Linked DNA regions of Homo sapiens: region 2 is linked to region 1. The links are contacts of gene promoters, found by promoter capture Hi-C in blood cells and fetal thymus (Javierre and others, 2016). All regions are on one chromosome and are shown on one strand. The core of a region is centred on a gene start or on the middle of the fragment in contact, and the rest is flanking DNA. Distances in the headings are between cores, read along the strand shown.

Region 1 (2,806 bases), core at 93-2,592:
GTTTATTGTAGTCTTTGGTGCTAGAATCATGCAATGACATGGGTTGATGGCTGTGAGGCTGCTGGAAACTGGGACATAAATCCCAGAACATCTGCTTCTTAAAAATACTATCAGCTGTCTTAAGAGGAAGGAGGAGAAGCACCATGCACTTGGGTTGAAGCGGGGGTCTCAGTACATCTGAGCAGGGGTCTCAAGAACTCACAGAAGTCAGGGCTCCAAGTAAAGCAGCTTTATTGTTGCTGAGCTGAAGGGGTGAATGGAAGAGAGCAGTAGCAGCGTGGCTCAGCCTAGTTCTCGCTTCTCTAGAGCTGGGGATCAGGAAGTGTTTCTCAGTCCAAATGAGAGGTTGAGGGCCTGGCTTTCCAAGGGGGAATTAGTACCCAAAGGTGGGGCAGGGAGAGAGTAACTGCACCTGTGCCTCAACTCTTCTGGGCTCAGTCGCCTTCACACTCTTCCTCTTTGCAGTGGTAGGTTGTGCCCCTACTTAGGCAGCGCAGCTTTTGACGAGCCCTCCTAGGCTTCTGAACCTCAGGCCTTTGGGAACTGGAATGACAACCTTCTGAATGGGGAGCACCACAAGGAGTCGAGTAGGGAGCTAGGCAGGGGTTTGATCTTTGGGGAGGGGAGCATTTGGGAACATTTGGAGGCTTCCAAGATTGCTGCTTCTGCTGTGACATTGCTTGGCTACCAGGTCGAATCTGGAAGAAAAATAGTTATATCAGGGACCCAGGCAGCTTGGGCTTCTGTTTCTCTCCTCCACAAACTGGAGCTGTCAAAAATGAAGTCCAGCATTTACAACCCACTGAACTCCATCTCAGGAGGAGAAAAACGGACTTGAAAGGACTAAATATTTGGGAGTAAATCTTCCCAGGGGACTCACTTACTAATAACCATGTTAATGATATATGCTTCCTTAAAAAAAAAAAAAGACAAATTGTACTTAGTTGAGCTGACAGTTTACTTTTCCCAGCCCAATGTCCACCTGGTTAAGTGCAAAGGAGAGCCAAGTCTCTGCTCTTTCTTTACTCTGTCTTATTCTGTCCCCAGACTCCTAAGTCTGACTGTCCCATCTCTGCTTTTCTGGCCCTCTAACTTCTATGGCTTTCTCCCATGTTAGATTATTTGGGGTCTTTCTTTTGCAGGGATCCACTTCTCTTCCCTTCTTTCTACCCCAAGCATCTCCTACCTGGCTTTTCAGCTCCCTGGGAAGAGACGAGAGGAGAGATCAGGACTGCCTAAGCAGCACTTGAGCTACATCCAAGTGTCTCCTCAGCCAGAAGTAGCCTTACCCTAGTGGAAGATGTGTGGACAAGTTATCCCAGGAGGAGTCTGGAGGCCTTGTGTTGCCAGGAAGTAAGAGGCTCTTTTATATATCCTCCAGTTGAAGCCTCCAGGCCACATGTCATTGGAGGAGAGCCATGGAGTGGATGATTGATCTGGGTATTTCACAATTCCCAGTGCTAGATTCCTCAGCTACATGTAGCTGGGATGTGGTTCAAAGGCATCTGCAGGTGCGTGAGTGAGCAGAAGGCTGGGGCCTTCAGATTGGCCTACGCAGAAGTGGGTACACTGGCTAATCTGGATGATGTCCTTGGGAGGCTGGGCGGGTTGCAGCTGCTGTTGAATTCTATGTAGGATTGGAGGGAAAAATCAGGTTCGACATCACCCAGGGTCTGAGGAAGACCTTCCTTGTCTACTCCCCACCCATCATCCATGACTGTCAGCATCCCATTCCGTGTCATCACCTCTGTGGAGATTGGCCCATTGCTCTAGCCACACATGAGTCCTTCATCCTCTGACCTTTATAGATACATGTCACAGCCTTTACTATTGCTTTGGGTCGTGTGACCAAGATACATATCCTATCTCACCTATTAAACTGTTATTTGATGACAGTGCCTTTATCACTTCTGCATTCCTAGAGCCTGATGTTGTTCCTGACACAAAGAAAATACTCATTAGTATTTGTTGAATGAAACAGTCTATGTGCCATTAGAAAAGACTTTGTGTTTCAGGAGAAAAAAACAGGAATAAAATAAAGCCCAACTCATTTTGTTTTGTGGACGAGACCTTGACTTCTTGTTTCCATCATTCTCCCCTAAGGCATTTGTGAACACCCTTTCATAAATACTACAGGGAACTCTGTGGGTGGACCTCACCTTACACAATAGGCTGAGCAGAGGGTGGGAAGCAAAACCTTCACACACCTGCTGTCTCTTAAATGCAAAAGGGGAGCTGTTCTTGGAATTATCAAGGGACATTGTGGAAAAGCCTTCCACAGAGTGAAAAGTTCTTCTTTAGCTTTCATGAAAATTGAGATAATCATGTTTTGGCAGTGCTTAAATTGGGAACATTCTCTAAACACAGTCCCTCACCTCTGGATGCTTCCATCTCAGAATCGCTCCTGGTGTGCCCAGCTAAGTTAAAAGGCACTGATGAAACTCCCTGCTGCTCAAGAGTGTGCCTCACCTGCCTCTGTATTTCTGATGCCTGACACACAGTAGGTATTCAGGAAACAGTTGGGTAAATAAAAAGATGAGCAATTACAAGGAACATTCTGACTGTAGGGGCAGTCCTCAAAGGCCTTCAAATCATGTATAGGACAAAGGTGAGTAGGGTTGGGGTATGGGAGAGGGTATGAAGACCAGGGTGGAAAATAGGACAAGGCCAGAAAAGGAGCAGCTATTGGATCCCAAAATCCAGCAGGGCAGGATCATCAGGTTTCAATTGCTTCATCTGGGAAAACTTTGAGATGCAGTTTGGATGGAGGAAGAGAAGATCTTTGTGAGTGAAACAGCAGGTGGAA
Region 2 (2,806 bases), core at 129-2,628, 200 kb after region 1:
AATGGAAAACATACATTAAAAAGTATAATCTAGTAAAATAAGCTCAAGAAGAGACAAAAAGTATGAATTCTCTTATAACTAGTTGAGAAACTAAAGTACTATTAAGAAACATAGAAAACAATGGCCAAAATTGTTTTCTAGGCGAACAGTACAAAACTATAAAGGAGTAGATCGTTTCAAATTTATTTAAGGATATTGGGCATAAAAATTCAATCATTTTGAAAAACAGATTAGCTCTCCATTATAAATTTAAATTCTTAGCTACTAAATACACCAAGATTCAGCAATTCTGCTCCTAGAAGACATGTACAAGAATGCTTAGAGTAAACATCTGAAAACCACAAAACTGCCAAATCCAGAGATGTCCTTTGGTTTTGCACAGACACACTTACCAGGATGAGTCTCAGAATTAGCTCAGGCTGCAGAGGTGTCCAAAAGGAGGAAGAAGAAGAACCAGGGACACCTTTCATAGGAGGAGTCCCCAGGCTGGGCTCAGAAATGAGCCTTGTCTCTGGAAAGAGCAGGAGAAAATCTCTCACAACCAAGGAACACTTAGGGCCATTCCTGACATTCTCCTTCCAAAAGAGCTGTAGGAGCACTCCAGCCTCTCAATGGGGCCCAAGACCTGTGGGCCTTCAACGAGCCACACCCTTTCCCAAATATAAGCCTCAGATAGCCTGAGATCCCAAGAACCTGGTCACTGGGCTGAGGCTCTAAGGCCTGGGTCGCTGCGTGCCAGTCCCTTCTCATGAAATAGGTGGTCACATCTTTCTTGCCAAGCTTTGTGAGGTGGGGCTTAGATGAGACAAATAGGAAAGAGAGGATAGAAAACTTTAAGAGAGTTTTTTCAAAAGAATCTACAAGACTGGATGTCCCTTTGTGTATATGTGATGGGGAAAAGGGATAGATCAAAGATTATACCAAATGTCTTGACCAGATATCAAATGTCTTGACCAGAGAAATAATCATATGGTGGAAAGAGAACAAATATTGGGAGGGGTGTAGATTTGAGGTCCTAGCAAGACCTTCTGATGAATGAAGAGGTTCTGGAGACATTTAGAGATACCACCTTGGAGGTTATTGATTCCCAGTCTAAAGGGACTTGGAGATAAACTTCTGAAATCATCACCCTGGCATTCATCATTATTTACTCATCCATCTAACATAATTATTTATTTATTTGAACAACCACTTTACGGGGACCCAAGAGGATGAAAACAGGGTTTCTTTACTCAGCAGCTCTCACATTCTGATAGGATCAGAATTATAGAAATAAACACACATATCTTATAATGTTTTAAAATACTAGTAAGAAATCTTATGGAGTAGGGACAACTTTGTGAAATAGTATGCTGTTTCATATGCATTTCAGTACATGGAACAGTGAGAAGGCACACTAAATACTTGGACACCGGTGAGTGTAATGAAGTGCTTCTCTATCCCCTGCCACCAAAAACCAGGGGAATTGGCTTTTTTGTGCTTTTGTACCCACCGCCAATTAAGTATATAAGTGTGTGTGTGTGTGTGTGTGTGTGTGTGTACATGCATGGATGATGGATGCACACACACACACACCACATGTAAATGCCCATACACTTCAGTCCTGCCTCTCACTCCATCATGGTTGCTACAAACATCTCTTCACAGAGAATGAGGAAACTCAGGCTGACAACACCAAAGAAAAATTTGGACTAATGAAAGTATCTCACATATCTCATTGCAAAGTAGTGATTCAGGAGATGAAATTCAGAGCCACCTGCTTTGGACCTCATGGGCTTTTCTCATGCAAAGAAGTGCTTCAGAGATTCTAGTGGACTGTGAGCTTCTCAAGGTTAGAGGTTGTGTCTGATTCACATCCAAATCCCAAATTCCAGACTGATGTCCACAGACCTCATCTGGTGTGCTAAATGAATGTCCATTTAACCAAACACTTTGTTCATTTTTTAAATCTATTTTACATTTGGCCTGAAAGCTTGTGGAGGGTAGGGACCTTGTCTGAAAATAGGTAATAAATAAATAGAGAATGGAGCACCTCTAAAAGAGACTTTTAGAGGTCATATGTTTCTCCTTATTTGGGAACCTCAGTGAGGGAGTGGCCACTGCCATTTAGTTCACAGCTTTATTCTGCTCCTCAAACAATGAATGGTACAATGACTGCCTTCAATAAATGAAAAAATCTGTCTAACCCAACTCTTCCCTGATTTTTCAATGTCAAGTGTACTCAATCCCTCAGTCAATGTCATCTCCCATTCCTCATTCCCAGGGATAACTGGACTCCAGATTTAGAAGCTCCCCAGGATGGCAAGCCCTTCTCAGGCCACTTGTTAGAGTTTAGGGATAAGCTCCTTAAAAGTAGCAACCGTAAGTGACCATCTTTCAACCCCCCATAAGGCCTAGATGCTGTCAATTTGTTTTAGCATGCATTATTGAGCATCTTCTACGTACAAAACACATGCTACATATTTTCATTTCTTAATGTTCAAATCAATGAGTATTAGGGTACTCATTGATCATTTTAAAAAGAACACAGATGCCTAGGAAACATGAGTGATATTTCAAAGGTCACGAGTTACAGCTAGAATTGACACCAGGTTTCCTGACTATAGTTACAGAGACATGACCTCTATAGCCTGCCTTCCTCTTGCCAAATTAAGAAAGAGTTAATTGTTTTGACTAAATCAGCTCAGTCATCACTATCCTCACAAGTAAAATAAATCAGAATAGCACAGCTGCTCCTCAGAGGACAGCTGAGGGAGAAGCAGAGACCCAGAGTCCACCCTGAAGGACAGGTCCCAGGAAGGATGGC

Evidence for each region. The method cuts DNA at HindIII sites, captures the fragments that hold promoters and counts their contacts. A CHiCAGO score of 5 or more calls a contact.
Region 2: a fragment that was not itself captured here is called in contact with the fragment with the promoter of LCE6A in region 1 in 1 of 17 cell types (M0 macrophages); the score reaches 5.4 in M0 macrophages.

What each region holds. Positions count from the first base shown.
Region 1 is chr1:152,841,392-152,844,197 of GRCh38, reverse strand. LCE6A (late cornified envelope 6A) reads right to left here and starts at 1,342. Exons shown (of 2, transcript NM_001128600.2): 1 at 1,187-1,342; 2 at 215-698. The coding sequence starts at 677. The coding sequence ends at 435. The HindIII fragment of the contact is 3,660 bases long and covers 1-2,806 here.
Region 2 is chr1:152,645,779-152,648,584 of GRCh38, reverse strand. No RefSeq gene overlaps it. Among named protein-coding and RNA genes, the nearest start is that of LINC00302, 8.3 kb to the left of the region's middle. The HindIII fragment of the contact is 1,192 bases long and covers 783-1,974 here.